Linked DNA regions of Homo sapiens: all the other regions are linked to region 3. Evidence: promoter capture Hi-C in 16 types of primary human blood cells and fetal thymus (Javierre and others, 2016). All regions are on one chromosome and are shown on one strand. The core of a region is centred on a gene start or on the middle of the fragment in contact, and the rest is flanking DNA. Distances in the headings are between cores, read along the strand shown. Region 1 overlaps GYS1 (glycogen synthase 1). Region 2 overlaps SPHK2 (sphingosine kinase 2). Region 3 holds the start of BCAT2 (branched chain amino acid transaminase 2). Region 4 has its middle 6.4 kb from the start of NTN5. Region 5 overlaps GYS1 (glycogen synthase 1).

Region 1 (2,830 bases), core at 5-2,504, 160 kb after region 3:
CTCTGGGGTTCAAACGATTCTCCCACCTCAACTTCCCGAAGGGCTGGGATTACAGGTGCCTGCCACCACCCCCAGCTAATTTTTGTATTTGTAGTAGAGATAGGGTTTCACCATGTTGGCCAGGCTGGTCTCAAACTCATGTCCTCAAGTGATCCTCCCACCTCGGCCTCCCAAAGTGTGGGGATTATAGGCGTGAGCCACCATGCCTGGCCTGATCTATAATTCTTATGTAAGTTTTCCTAAAAACATCTGTAAACTGCAAAAATAGGCACTAAATATAATACATCTGTCAGGCATGGTGGGATGCACCTATAATGACAGATACTCAAGAGGCTGAGGCAGAAGCACCTGAACCTAGGAGTTCCAGGTGAGCCTTGGCAACAGAGTAATAACCCCATCTCAAAAAAGAAACAAATAGTAAAATGTATTAAATATATATTTATGATATAGTTTGACTCTGTGTTCCCCCCCAAATTTCATCTCAAAATGTAGTCCCCACGTGTCGAGGGAGGGAAATGATTGGATTACGGGGGTGGTTCCCCCGCCGCTGTTCTCATGATAGTGAGTGAATTCTCACGAGATCTCATGGTTTTATAAATGTTCGTTTTTCCTGCACCCTCACATACTTCTCCCTCCTGCCGCCATGAGAAGAAGCTTCTTTCTTCCCCTTCTGCCATGACTGAGTTTTCTGAGGCCTCTCCAGACATGTGGAACGGTGAGTCAATTACACCTCTTTCCGTTATAAATTACCCAGTCTTGGATTTTTTTTTTATAGCGGTGTGAAAACAGACTAGTACTATCTATCAATCTATCTATAAAACAAGGCCTATGGAAAAAGGGAATTGGGGCTGACCGCGACTCCTAATTATCATGCAAGCACAGTTTGCAGGACTTGTTAAATTACTAATAAATTAGGAAATGGCACTAATTTAGCTTTAATTTTTTTTTTTTTTTTTTTTTGAGACGGAGTCTCGCTCTGTCACCCAGAGCACAGCACTGCCGGAGTGCAGTGGCATGATCTCAGCTCACTGCAACCTCCGCCTCCCAAGTTCAAGCAATTCTCTGCCTCAGCCTCCCAAGTAGCTGAGACTACAGGTGCGTACCACCACACCTGGCTAATTTTTGTATTTTTAGTAGAGACAGGGTTTCACTATATTGGCCAGGCTGGTCTCAAACTCCTGACCTCATGATCTGCCCATCTTGGCCTCCCCAAGTGCTGGGATTACAGGCATGAGCCACCACGCCCAGCCTTATTTAGCTTTAAAAACACTGGCTAATGTGAACCAACAAGAGGAAGGTGGAGTTGATGGGCACTGGGAACGTCTTACGAGGAGACTTGGCCACACTCGGCTGTATTTGTGAATTGTGCATTTCATTGCCACTATTTGGGGGGCCACTGCTTTCTGGGAGAAAGCAGTGTGAACTGTGACATCCAGTTCACTAGTCCTCAAAACCCAGTCTTCTAGTTTCTCAATACATGAGCTATTGTATCACAAAAGCACGCGCTGTAGCAGAACAGGTGATTACCATTGTTCCTGTTTTGCAAAGAAGGCAACAGGCTCAGAGAAGGCCAGTGCCTCGCCCCAAGACATGCTAGCTCTGACTAGGATGCCATGACCACGCTGTCCCCTGCCCACTACACTCACCCGGTGTGTAGCCCCAAGGCTCATAGTAGGAGGGGAAGACTCCAAGGTGACAGCCACGGACAAACTCCTCATAGTCCACAGGGAGCAGGGGGCTTGTGGAGGAGAGGAACTCCGGGTGGAAAATCACCTGGTAGTGAAAAAGAAGGACTCAGCCCAAGTGCCTTATTTAGCTAAGCCCTGAGATCCCAAGGTGGCCCAGAGAGGGTAAAAAGCTTGTCTAGCATCACACAGCATGTGTTTGGCAGGACCAATGTTCAAACCCAGGTCTGCCTGCCTCAGAAGCCAGGGTTCTTTCTAACCACAGCAATACCTTTGATAAAACTTATAGGGGAATGGAGTGTGTGAGGCCCAGGACCCAACCCCTTCCCTCTGCCGTGCCCAACCCAGCCCTGACCAAATGCCCTCACCTTCACCCTGTCGGCACTGCTATTGAAGAGGCCGATTCGGCGGATGGTGGTCAGGATGGGGTCTGAGGAGTCATCCAGCATATTGTGGGTGCACACAGGGGGGAAAGACTGCCGCTGCAGGAGCCACAAGAAGGGTAAGGGGTCATGGAAGGGACAGAGAACTCCCTACTTCCTCATGAGCCATGCGGACCCTGGGGGAGCCAAGGAGACCACAAATGCACCGGACGTGGGGCAACAAACCCAAGTGATCACCAGGAGTTGTGGATTCCCACTAGTACAACCTGTAAAGGTTTTCTTTCTTTTCTTTTAAATTATTATTATTTATTTTTGAGGCGGAGTCTCGCTCTGTCGCCCAGGCTGGAATGCAGTGGCACAATCTCGGCTCACTGCAAGCTCCACCTCCCAGGATCATGCCATTCTCCTGCCTCAGCCTCCCGAGTAGCTGGAACTACAGGCGCCTACCACCACGCCCGGTTAATTTTTTGTATTTTTAGTAGAGACGAGGTTTCACTGTGTTAAATCAGGATGGTCTAGATCTCCTGACCTCGTGATCCACCTGCCTTGGCCTCCCAAAGTGCTGGGATTACAGGCGTGAGCCATTGCGCTCAGCCTAATTTTTTTTTTTTTTTTTTTTAATAGAGATGGGGTTTCACTATGTTGGCCAAGTTGGTCTCGAACTCATGGGCTCAAGCGATGCATCCGTTTTGGCCTCCCGAAGTGCTGGGATTACAGACATGAGCCACCACACCTGGCCTGGAAATGTTTTCCTTCCCTTAA
Region 2 (2,844 bases), core at 43-2,542, 180 kb before region 3:
GGGTAGGGGCCTCCACCTGCGGCCCGCCCGACCACCTGCTGCCTCCGCTGGGCACCCCGCTGCCCCCAGACTGGGTGACGCTGGAGGGGGACTTTGTGCTCATGTTGGCCATCTCGCCCAGCCACCTAGGCGCTGACCTGGTGGCAGCTCCGCATGCGCGCTTCGACGACGGCCTGGTGCACCTGTGCTGGGTGCGTAGCGGCATCTCGCGGGCTGCGCTGCTGCGCCTTTTCTTGGCCATGGAGCGTGGTAGCCACTTCAGCCTGGGCTGTCCGCAGCTGGGCTACGCCGCGGCCCGTGCCTTCCGCCTAGAGCCGCTCACACCACGCGGCGTGCTCACAGTGGACGGGGAGCAGGTGGAGTATGGGCCGCTACAGGCACAGATGCACCCTGGCATCGGTACACTGCTCACTGGGCCTCCTGGCTGCCCGGGGCGGGAGCCCTGAAACTAAACAAGCTTGGTACCCGCCGGGGGCGGGGCCTACATTCCAATGGGGCGGAGCCTGAGCTAGGGGGTGTGGCCTGGCTGCTAGAGTTGTGGTGGCAGGGGCCCTGGCCCCGTCTCAGGATTGCGCTCGCTTTCATGGGACCAGACGTGATGCTGGAAGGTGGGCGTCGTCACGGTTAAAGAGAAATGGGCTCGTCCCGAGGGTAGTGCCTGATCAATGAGGGCGGGGCCTGGCGTCTGATCTGGGGCCGCCCTTACGGGGCAGGGCTCAGTCCTGACGCTTGCCACCTGCTCCTACCCGGCCAGGATGGCTGAGGGCGGAGTCTATTTTACGCGTCGCCCAATGACAGGACCTGGAATGTACTGGCTGGGGTAGGCCTCAGTGAGTCGGCCGGTCAGGGCCCGCAGCCTCGCCCCATCCACTCCGGTGCCTCCATTTAGCTGGCCAATCAGCCCAGGAGGGGCAGGTTCCCCGGGGCCGGCGCTAGGATTTGCACTAATGTTCCTCTCCCCGCGGGTGGGGGCGGGGAAATTCATATCCCCTGTTCGTCTCATGCGCGTCCTCCGTCCCCAATCTAAAAAGCAATTGAAAAGGTCTATGCAATAAAGGCAGTCGCTTCATTCCTCTCAGACCTTCTGCCCTTCCTCCATCCGACAGCCCGCGGGAGGACTCAGACTCCAGCACTTCCAGCAGCGCCTGCCCTCTATGGACGACAGCCCGGAGCTGCCCACGGGCTGCAGCCAGTATGCCAGGGAGCTGCCCTCTTCTTCCACAACAGCTGGCTCTGGGGTTCTCAAGATTTATTCAGGATCGTGTTAACGGAGGCGGTGGGAGGATAGGGTCCCTGACGTGCCGGGGACACACACAGAGAACCCTCCCCGCCCCCGCAAGGGAGGGGGGAGGCTCGCTTTTTCTTAAAAATATAAATGTATTTATCTGCATTATCACGTCCCTGGGGCACCCAGCTGGCCGGCCCGTGGGCCACAGGGCAGGAAGGGAACAGGGCGTAAGTCTCAGCAAGGCGGAGGAGAGCTCCGCCAGGTGGGGATGTGGGGCAGCCTCACAGGGCCCCGTGCTGGGCCTGGTATCGGGACAGCACGGCGCGGTAGTGGGACAGCTCCTGGCGCACGGCCACAACTTCCTGCCGCAGCAGGGCGTTCTCCTTCTCCAGGAAGGCCGCCCGCACCGATATCTGGTTCTCCTTGAGCCGCCGGGCGTCACGGGACCGCTTGGCTGCCTCGTTGTTCTTGTACCGCCGGCTCCAGTATTTCTCATCCTGCAGGAGAAGAGGGGGAGAGCACTGAGGTCCAGAGGGACCCAGGTCCCAGCGAGAGAGGAAGGGAGCCCCAGCAGCGGGGCCTAAACCACACCAGGTCTCTGCTGGGATAGGTACCCAAGGGTCTGCCTTTCTAGGGCCCTGGTTGCTAAGGAGATTGGGCCCCTAGCAACAGTAAAGGCATGAGATAGACCCCCCACCCTCAAGCAACTCGCTTCAAGTCTCCACTCTGCAAAGCGGACCCCAGCCCTCCCCACATGATAAAGGCCTGCATGCAGTTAGCTCTTGCTTGCTAAGGATGCTTGTTCCCTAGCAACAAGGCCTTCATGGTCTGAGGGCTTCTCCCAATGAAGAGCACTGCCCTGCCCTGCACATTGCCTTTCCAGATCCTGGTTGCTAAGGAAAGCTTGGTGCCCTGGTGATGGGGTTTGGTGTCCCATAAAATCCTCGCAGAGCTGGGGCCTTCTGACCTGGTTGCCAAGGCAACCTCATCCATCCTTGGCAAACAAAAGTGAGGTCTAAGTGGTTTCAATGACTGTGGCCAGCCTCTGACCTGCTGGCCTTGAACTGAGGCCAGAGAATAGCCTCCTCCCCAGTAGGACCTGACTGAGAGAAGAGCTGTCTCTTAGGAAAGGGGACTATCCTGAGACCTCCCCAGAGGATTATACCTAAAGTCCTCCCATCCTGGAAGTTGGTTCCTAAGGAAGACTCCTCCTTAGTAACCAAGGACCACGGGGCTCAGAAAGATGCTCTCTACTCCACTATTTAATTAAAGCCCAGTTCCTGCTTGTGAGGGTAAATCCAGTCCCTAGCAACAGGGCCCTCTAGAAGGAGAAACCACTGGTGTAGATCTGACTTCCAGGCCAGTCCTAGGTGCTTCAAGTAGCTATGTGTTACGCAAGGGTATGGCAAAGTCTTGTTTGTTTTTGAGATGGAGTCTCGCTCTGTCGTTCAGGCTGGAATGCAGTGGCATGATCTCGGCTCATTGCAACCTCCACCTCCCAGGTTCAAGCGATTCTCCTGCCTCAGCCTCCCAAGTAGCTGGGATTATAGGTGCCCGCTACCATGTCCGGCTAATTTTTGTTCTTTTTTTTTTTTTTTGAGATGGAGTTCTCACTC
Region 3 (3,006 bases), core at 357-2,856:
TCCAGGACTGTCCCCATATCACGGCCCCGGAGAGACCCCATCATACCGCAGTCTGCCCTTGTCACAGCCCACACATGACCCCATCACGTCTAGAACTGCCCCCTTTATAGCCCAGGACTCTCCCCCATCACAGACCAGGGCTGTTCTATGATGGCCCAAGATGCTCCACATCACAAGTCCAGATTGTGCCTGTAACTTATCAGAACTGGTCCCCAGCAGAGCCAAGTACTGTCCCAAACAGCTCAGGAATGTCCCCTATCCAAAGCCCAGCACTTTTCCCCATTATAACCAGCATTGTCTCTGCCAAATATCAGGGCTTATTTCCTATTCACCAGGTCTGAAATTAAAAAAAAAAAAAAAATCCCATTGTTGTCTTTTTCAATCCCCAGGACTATCCCTATGTTGCTGTCTAGGCCAGTACCTTCCAGACTGTCCCTACCATGGTCCAGCACTGTCCTCTCCACACCCCGGGACTGTCCCCATCACAGCTGAGGACTCAGCCCAATTATCTCCATTACAGGATATCTCTATCTTCATCAGAGCCTAGGAATGTCCCATCATGAGTTCAGGGCCATTCTATGACACCAGAACTGTGCCATGATGAGACGGTCCACATCAGTCCCAAGTGGACCTGTCAAAGCCCAGTACTGCCCCACCACAGTCCAGGAGTGTCACCACTAAAGCCCAGATTGCCCACATACCCCAGGTATCCCAGGACTATCCCTATCAGTCACTAAGAGCCGAAAAAAGTGAAATTCTGCCCTGACATTCATCAGCTAGGATAAGAGACTCAAATAAAGTCAGGTGTAAAGTTAACAGACAGTTCTCCCAAGGTTACACCGCAGCTGTGAAGGCTTGTAATGACCCCTTTCTTTGGCTGTTTCCTTCCTCACTGAGAAACCTTGTTCTCTGAAATCATAGACTCTGGGAAACGCTGCTGCTGTTTGACATCGCACAGTCAGAAGGGATCGTCTCAGCCAGCCTGCAGCATCTGTCACTTTGACCATGAGACGCTGCCTCGATTTCCAATCCAGGTGCAAAGCTTCAGATAGGAGTTTGGGAAGCACAGCAATCCCCATCTCTTATTTTTTTCAACTTTCATTCCAAGAAAATAGGACCTTGAGTCCAATTCCCAGAGCTGAGACTTGAGGTCCAACTCTGCCTTCACCTGCACCCGGCCCTGGAGGTCTGGGCCCCTTTATTCCAGCTCCCGCACAGGCTGATGCCCCACCGCACCCCAGGGCTCCGCTCCCCAAATCACAACCTCCCCACCCCCACGCCTCCCTCATTACAGGGTCCTCCACCATGTTTCCCTTTTTTTTTTTTTTTTTACCTCCCCGCCAATTACTTGCCCCACCTCATCCGCGTCTACCTGCTCCCCCTCACCCCATTAAAGCCTCGTGCTCCTTTCCAAAGGGCGCCATCCTCCTCCGCGCCCTGCAGCGGAACCCCAGGGCGGGAGGAGCGGCGCCGAGTCGGACCGGCTGCAGGCCAGTGGTCTTCCCGGAAGTGCGCCTCCCCCGGTTATTTCCCAGACCCCGGCGCGGGGCTGCGAACCCACCTGCCCCAGAGCGGCTGCGGCCATGATCCGTGCGGCGCGTAACTGTGCCCGCCCGGGGCGCGGCTCCGAAGAGAGACGTTCCGGCCACGCCCCGCTCACGCCTCCTTCTGGGGGAAGGCGGCCGACCAGCGCCCCAGGCCGTCCCAGCTCCAGGGCGTCGGCAGGGAGCCGGACACTGCTGCGGGGCGCAGGCGCTGGTGGGAGGGCAGGACTTGAAATACGGTCCCTGCCAGGCGAAGTGGCTCAGGTCTGTAATCTTAGCACTTTGGGAGGCCGAAGCGGGCGGATTACCTGAGGTCAGGAGTTAGAGACCAGCCTGGTCCAACATGATGAAACCCCGTCTCTACTAAAAATACAAAAAATTAGCCGGGCGTGGTGGCGGGCGCCTGTAATCTTAGCTACTCGGAAAGCTGAGGCAGGAGAATTGCTTGAATCGGGGAGGCAGAGGTTGCAGTGAGCCGAGATGATGCCACTGCACTCCAGCCTGGGCGACAGAGTGAGACTCCGTCTCAAAAAAAAAAAAAAAAAAAAGTCCTGGCTTGGTGGCTCACACCTGTAATCCCAGCACTTTGGGGGCCAAGGCGGGTGGATCACCTGAGGCCAGGAGTTCAAGACCAGCCTGGCCGACATGGGGAAACCCCGTCTCTACTAAAAATACAAAAATTAAGGCCAGGCACGGTGGCTTACGCCTGTAATCCCAGCACTTTGGGAGGCCGAGGTGGGCGGATCACAAGGTCAGGAGTTCAAGACCCGCCTGACCAACATGGTGAAACCCCGTCTCTACTAAAGATACAAAAATTAGCCGGGTGTGGTGGTGTGCGCCTGTAATCCCAGCTACTAGGGAGGCTGAGGCAGGAGAATCATTTGAACCCTGGAGGCGGACGTTGCGGTGAGCCGAGATCGCGCCACTGCATTTCCAGCCTGGGTGACAGGGTGAGACTCCGTCTCAAAATAAATAAATAAATAAAAATAAATACATAAAAATACAAAAATTAGTCGAGCGTGGTGCCGGGGGCCTGTAATCCCAGCTATTCGGGAGGCTGAGGCAGGAGAATCGCTTGAACCCGGGAGGCGGAGGTTGCAGTGAGCCGACATTGCACCACAGCACTCCAGCCTGGGCGACAGAGTGAGACTCCGTCTCAAATTAAAAAAAAAAAAAAAAAATCGTATCCCTCGGCCATCGTGTCTCGGCAATCCTACCCTGGGACACTCTGTCTCCAAATTCTACCCCCACAGTGCCCCCAAGTCCTGTCCCCGGGTCACTATCCTGCCACCCCTAACAGCCACAGGCCCAAACAGCCAAACCGCGGGACCCTTCCCTCACAGGGCGTCGCCCTGTTTTTCTGCGCTCCGCCCCAGTCCTCCTGCCCCACCCGCCAGCCCCGGGCTGTAGGGTCGGGGCCCACTGACAGCTCCCGCCCCCGCCGCGGCCAATCAGCGGTTGG
Region 4 (2,811 bases), core at 77-2,576, 130 kb before region 3:
CTACTGGGGAGGCTGAGGTGGAAGGATCCCTTGAGCCCAGCTGTGATCAGACCACTGGCACTCCATCCTAGGTGACAGAGTGAGAACCTGTCTCAAAAAACAAAAGCTGAACTCTCCAGCTTGACACGATAGTGCAGAGGGAACATTCTCAAGGCAAGACATGAAAGCTGTTAGTTCTTTAAGTCCTGGGCCAGAAATGGACACAATTTCACTTGCACTATATTAAAGTGGTCAAGGCAGTCATGGGCCCGCCCAGATCCAAGGGAAAGGGAGTCCAGGAGTCTGTGGTGGCTTGAACCCACCACACCCACTAATAGTATCAGGAAACGCTTAGCACTTATCAGTGCAGGGGTGTGGCAGCCCCATTTCTTGGAGGAGGAGAGGAGGAGTTAAATAACACCTCCAGGTCACCAGCCTGCAGAAGGCAGAGCCTGTCCATGAACTTGGGCCCACCTGTGCTCTTTCCCAAACTCTGCACGGGCACCAAAGATTCTTACCTGTTTTTTCCTCTGCTGGCTTCCTGGCCCTGAGCACCGTGCCTGGCATTGTAATAAATACTCTGCAAGTATTGATTTTATTTATGTTATTTTTATTTTTTTTGAGACAGTCTCGTTCTGTCACCCAGGCTGGAGTGCAGTGGCACAATCTCGGCTCACTGCAAACTCCACCTCCTGGGTTCAAGCGATTCTCCTGCCTCAGCTTCCTGAGTAGCTGGGATTACAGGCACCCGCCACCATGCCCGGCTAATTTTTGTATTTTTAGTGGAGATGGGGTTTTGCCATGTTGGCCAGGCTGGTCTCAAGCTCCTGACCTTAGGTGATCCGCCCACCTTGGCCTCCCGAAGTGCTGGGATTACAGGTGTGAACCACCGTGCCCAGCCACTGCAGGTATTGATTTTCCAACACATACAGGGCATTTCCTGTGTGCGAGGCACTGCTTTACAAAATCATCACATTTAATCTTCAAGCAACCCCATGAGGTAGTTCTGTGAGGTAGAATCATAGAAATGGCCGTGAGTAGGCCAGGCACGGTGGCTCATGCCTGTAATCCCACCACTTTGGGAGGCTGAGGCGGGTGGATCACGAGGTCAAGAGTTCGAGACCAGCCTGGCCACCATGGTGAAACCCCGTCTCTACTAAGAATACAAAAATTAGCCAGGGTTGGCAGTGCATGCATGTAATCCCAACTACTCAGGAGGCTGAGGCAGGAGAATCGCTTGAACCCGGGAGGCGGAGGTTGCAGTGAGCCAAGATCGTGCCACTGCACTTCAGCCTGGGTGACAAAGCAAGACTCCATCGCCAAAAAAAAAAAAAAAAAGAAATGGCCATGAGTGTAGGTAAAATCGGGTTAAATATTGGCACTTTCAAATAGTTCCATCTACTCATCCCCATTTAACAGGTGAGGAAACAGACTCAGAGAAACTCAGTAACTTCTTGTTGTTTTTGAGACAGGGTCTTGCTCTGTTGCCCAGGCTGGGGTGCGGGGGCACAATCACAGTTGACTGCAGCCTCAACCTCCTGGGCTCAAGCAATCCTCCCACCTCAGCCTCCCAAGTAGCTGGGACCACAGGTGCATGCCACCATGCTTGACTAATTTTAAAAAAAATTTTTTTTTTTTGTAAAGATAGGGTCTCACTTTTTTTGCTCAAGCTGGTCTTGAACTTGGGCTCAAGTGATCCTCCCATCTCAGCCTCCCAAAGTGCCAGGATTACAGGCACAAGCCGCTGTGCTCAGCGAGGTGCAGTAACTTGACTGAAGTCACAAGGTGCTGGTGAGGCTGGGACTTCCAGCAGGAACTCAGCCTCAGGTGGAAAGACCCCAGGGTCTGTGCTCTGAGGCCTCTCCCATGCACTGTGGTGCTCAGGACAGAGGCTTGGATGGATTGAGTGAGTGAATGAATGACTTTGGCAGGGGGTGGGTGAAGAGACTCCTGTCCCCCCAGCCCTGCCTCCTGACCATGTCCTCTCTCCTCCCCACAGCCGTCAAGGGATTCTGGGCCACCCGCCCTTCCTTCTCCACCTTCTACTTCGTCTTTGCCATTTTTGTGGTGTCCACCATCTTTCACTGCCACCAGCACCTGGCTCTGGTGCCTGCGCCCTGGGCATACTCAGCCCGTGTGGTCCTGGCCCCCAGACACCTGCCCCGGGAGGACCTGTTCACTATCAACTCCAAGGGCCGCCTGGGGAACCAGATGGGCGAGTACGCCACGCTGTACGCCCTGGCCAAGATGAACGGGCGGCCCGCCTTCATCCCGGCCCAGATGCACAGCACCCTGGCCCCCATCTTCAGAATCACCCTGCCGGTGCTGCACAGCGCCACGGCCAGCAGGATCCCCTGGCAGAACTACCACCTGAACGACTGGATGGAGGAGGAGTACCGCCACATCCCGGGGCGCTGTGTCCGCCTCACGGGCTACCCCTGCTCCTGGACCTTCTACCACCACCTCCGCCAGGAGATCCTCCAGGAGTTCACCCTGCACGACCACGTGCGCGAGGAGGCCCAGAAGTTCCTGCGGGGCCTGCAGGCCAAGTGGGCAGGGCAGGCGACCTTCGTGGGGGTCCACGTGCGCCGGGGGGACTATGTCCGTGTCATGCCGCGCGTATGGAAGGGGGTGCTGGCCGACCGGCTACCTGCAGCGGGCCCTGGACTGGTTCCGGGCCTGCTGCCGCCTCCCGGTCTTTGTGGTCACCAGCGATGACATGGCCTGGTGCCGGGAGAGCATCAACAGCTCCCTTGGGGACGTGGTGTTCGCTGGCAATGGCCTCCAGGGCTCACCTGCCAAGGACTTCGCACTGCTCACACAGTGCAACCA
Region 5 (2,941 bases), core at 108-2,607, 180 kb after region 3:
GCCACACATTTCTAACATAGCCCATCCTCTGTCCGTGCCCCAGGGCTGCATTTTTCTAGCCACTGCCGTGTTTCTAAGACTTGCTGTCTCACTTCTGCCTCTGCCACATTTCTCCAGTTGGCTGTTTTCCTCCCTGAGACCATGGCTTTGGTTCTGGGCCTGCTGCCACAGCAGTGGAGAAGCAGCCCCGCTCCTCGCCGACCTGGCTTTTTGCTGCCTGGAGCCTCGCTCTGAGGTCCCTCCCCCTCCCAGCTGTTGTCTGCCCTTTTGCTGGGGGGGGGGGGGGGCTATTCTTAGGCCCCCAGCACGTGGGAAGCAGCTGCCCTCAGGAAGCGACTGGGCTGTTCTGGGTTCCCTTAGGGACACAGTCGGACCTGAATGGATTCCAGACCCCACCCCAAACCAGAGGCTGTGAATGAGTAAAGGAACCACAGTGCCTCTCCATCCCCAGCCTGGACCTGTCTGTCCCTTAGCCCTGCCGCCTGATGGCTTTCTCCTTGGACAACAGCGTGCCGCCTGATGGCTTTCTCCTTGGACAACAGCGTGTCTCTTTCCGTCTTCACCCTGGGGCCCTGGAACTCCCCCTCCTCTCTAATCCCTGATCTGCCCATCTCAGACTCTGTCCTGTGGGTCTGTCCACTGACCTCTCCTCTCTTCCCCGATATTCCATGCTTCTCTCTCCTTCTAGGACTGGCTTTCTGAAACATCTGGTGGCCTCTCTTCTGTCCCCAGTCTATTACTCTTGCCTGTGGCTCCATCCACCCTTCTCCCTTGGTCTGCCTGTCCCCCTCACTCTCCAAGCTTGGCTGTTAGTAACAATAATGACGATGATCATAACAATGACAATCACCGCCCACACAATGTGCTACCTTCATGCCAAGAACTCTACTAACCACTTTGTCCTTATTAACTGTTTCCTCCTCCCAGCACCGCTAGAAGGTAGACGCTATTAGCATGTCCATTAGCCAAGGACACACAGGCAGCAAGTGGAGGGTGAACTTGAACTTCAAGCTCCAGAATCCTGCTCCTTCCTGACCTCAGGCCCACTTCTCCCCAGCTCTGCCTGGCTGGCTGGCATTCTTTTCTGAGACAGAGTCTCGCTCCGTCGCCCAGGCTGGAGTGCAGTGGCCCAATCGCAGCTCACTGCAACCTCCGCCTCCCGGGTTCAAGCGATTCTCCTGCCTCAGCCTCCCGAGTAGCTGGGATTACAGGCACCCGCCACCACACCCAGCTAATTTTTGTATTTTTGGTAGAGACGGGGTTTCGCCATGTTGACCAGGCTGTCTTTCGATCTTGCTCTCTTTCTCTCTGGGTCTGAGGACCTTGGCCTCTTGGATCTCCGTCTCAGTCTGTCTCATACTTGCCATCTGTCTGTCCATTCGCCCATGTCTGGGATCCACCCACCCACTTCCAGGCCCTGCATCTGTCTGGGTGTCCTATCACGCCTCCTTCCTGTGTCCAAGCCTGCCTCGCTCTCTGGCTGGGGCTGTCCACCCTGCACCCTCTCCGTCTGTGGCTCCCACCCCGATGGCAGGCTGTCCACCCGCTTCTGCCCTGGGCTGGGCCACGTCCCACCTTGCAGCCCTTGCTGTTCATGGAATCCAGTGTCCTCTTCAGGGCCGGGGTGGGGGCCTCCAGCAGTTCCACCTGGGTCCTCACGCCCTGCTCCGTGTACGGCCCCACCAGGAAGTAGTTGTCGCCCCATTCGTCCCCTGTCACCTTCGCCTTCGTCTGCAGCACCGTGTAGATGCCACCCACTGTGGGCCCAAGCGTGTGAGGGCAGGCCCCGGCCGAGGTCCATAGTTCTGGGGCCTGGGGTGGGGTGGGCCGGGGATGTAGGGGGCACTCAGGCCCCAGACCTCTAGCTCAGGGGGAAGAGGGGACTGGGAGCCCATAGTTTGGAGTAGGGGTTGGAAGCTTGGATGAGGGGAACACGAGGGCTGGAGGGCAGTCCTCCTGGGTCTAAGGGAGAAGGGGGCTGGGGTCAGGACCCTGAAGGAGGAGGGGGCTCAGGCTAGACTTCTGGGTCTGAGAGAGAAGGGGCTGGGTGCCGGGACCCCTTGGTCTGAAGGAATTAGGCACTGGGGCTCTAAGGATGGCAGAGCTGAGGACTGACTACCCGGACTCAGGTTCCCGAGTTCCCAGCTCACAGGAGCTGGGTTTAAATCGCAGCCAGGCTCCAAAACCCAGTGAGGGAGACCCCCTCATGGCCAATCCAGCTTCTCACCATTGCCCAAGAGAAGCCTGCATGGTCATTCCCTGCCCCCAGGGACCTTGCTGACCTGCCTCCCAATTTCCTCTCCCTGACTAGGGACACCAGCATGCAGGGCTCTGCCTCTCCCATGACCCTATCCCAGACCCAGGAGCCCCAGCCCCCAGCCTCCTCCCATCCTGGAGCCCAGGCCCTGGCGATACCCGGCTGGGTGTTCACGGGCCCCCTCTCCTCCTGGGAGACACAGTCCCTTTCTCCTCCAAGACCCAGCAAAGCAACCCCCCAGACCCTGCTCTTTGAGGTGTGAGATTGGCTTGTTCCTGGGGATTTCAGCCCCAGCCTTCTCCAAGGCCAGAACCTCAGCTTTCTGAAGCCCAAGACACAGAAATGCAGGCTCCTAGCCCCTCCCATCCTAGGGCCCAGCCTCTGACTAACTTAGGACTTCCCAGCCTTCCCCTATTCCAGTACGCATGTGTCCCAGGCCATGGGCTCCTCTACTCCTAGGAACTAATAGCTCAGGCCCTCAGCTCCTTCAAAGCCCAGGCATTCATTACAGTCTCCAGCCCGTCCCATCTTTATTCTTAAGCAGCCAGATCCTCAGGTCCTCCCACCGCCGCTCAGGCCTCCTATCTCCCAGTCAGCTCTCTCTCAAATCTGGAGTTTTATCCCCTAGACCATGCTGTTAGGGTCATAGGTCTGAAACCCCGGCAGCTTCCCAGGTTTGCACGC

The links. The method cuts DNA at HindIII sites, captures the fragments that hold promoters and counts their contacts. A CHiCAGO score of 5 or more calls a contact.
Region 1: a fragment that was not itself captured here is called in contact with the fragment with the promoter of BCAT2 in region 3 in 13 of 17 cell types (endothelial precursors, erythroblasts, megakaryocytes and 10 more); the score reaches 12.6 in endothelial precursors.
Region 2: a fragment that was not itself captured here is called in contact with the fragment with the promoter of BCAT2 in region 3 in 1 of 17 cell types (endothelial precursors); the score reaches 5.9 in endothelial precursors.
Region 4: a contact is called between a fragment that was not itself captured here and the fragment with the promoter of BCAT2 in region 3, in 1 of 17 cell types (endothelial precursors). The highest score is 5.1, in endothelial precursors.
Region 5: a fragment that was not itself captured here is called in contact with the fragment with the promoter of BCAT2 in region 3 in 5 of 17 cell types (endothelial precursors, M0 macrophages, erythroblasts and 2 more); the score reaches 6.0 in endothelial precursors.

What each region holds. Positions count from the first base shown.
Region 1 is chr19:48,972,567-48,975,396 of GRCh38, forward strand. GYS1 (glycogen synthase 1) reads right to left here. Exons shown (of 16, transcript NM_002103.5): 11 at 2,054-2,167; 12 at 1,647-1,773. Among named protein-coding and RNA genes, the nearest start is that of FTL, 8.7 kb to the left of the region's middle. The HindIII fragment of the contact is 1,204 bases long and covers 653-1,856 here.
Region 2 is chr19:48,629,328-48,632,171 of GRCh38, forward strand. SPHK2 (sphingosine kinase 2) reads left to right here. Exons shown (of 7, transcript NM_020126.5): 7 at 1-1,078. The coding sequence ends at 446. DBP (D-box binding PAR bZIP transcription factor) reads right to left here. Exons shown (of 4, transcript NM_001352.5): 4 at 703-1,725. The coding sequence ends at 1,510. Among named protein-coding and RNA genes, the nearest start is that of DBP, 6.6 kb to the right of the region's middle. The HindIII fragment of the contact is 1,674 bases long and covers 456-2,129 here.
Region 3 is chr19:48,809,423-48,812,428 of GRCh38, forward strand. It overlaps BCAT2 (branched chain amino acid transaminase 2), which reads right to left and starts at 1,607. Exons shown (of 11, transcript NM_001190.4): 1 at 1,562-1,607. The coding sequence starts at 1,585. It overlaps LOC105372432 (a long non-coding RNA gene), which reads left to right. Exons shown (of 3, transcript XR_936017.4): 3 at 922-1,415. RefSeq lists enhancers at 1,187-1,256, 1,530-1,824, silencers at 1,577-1,796, 2,873-3,006 and a cis regulatory region at 2,686-3,006. The HindIII fragment of the contact is 3,241 bases long and covers 1,041-3,006 here.
Region 4 is chr19:48,678,047-48,680,857 of GRCh38, forward strand. It overlaps the pseudogene SEC1P. Among named protein-coding and RNA genes, the nearest start is that of NTN5, 6.4 kb to the left of the region's middle. The HindIII fragment of the contact is 8,665 bases long and covers 1-2,811 here.
Region 5 is chr19:48,989,727-48,992,667 of GRCh38, forward strand. GYS1 (glycogen synthase 1) reads right to left here. Exons shown (of 16, transcript NM_002103.5): 2 at 1,576-1,757. Among named protein-coding and RNA genes, the nearest start is that of GYS1, 2.1 kb to the right of the region's middle. RefSeq lists an enhancer at 39-430. The HindIII fragment of the contact is 1,116 bases long and covers 800-1,915 here.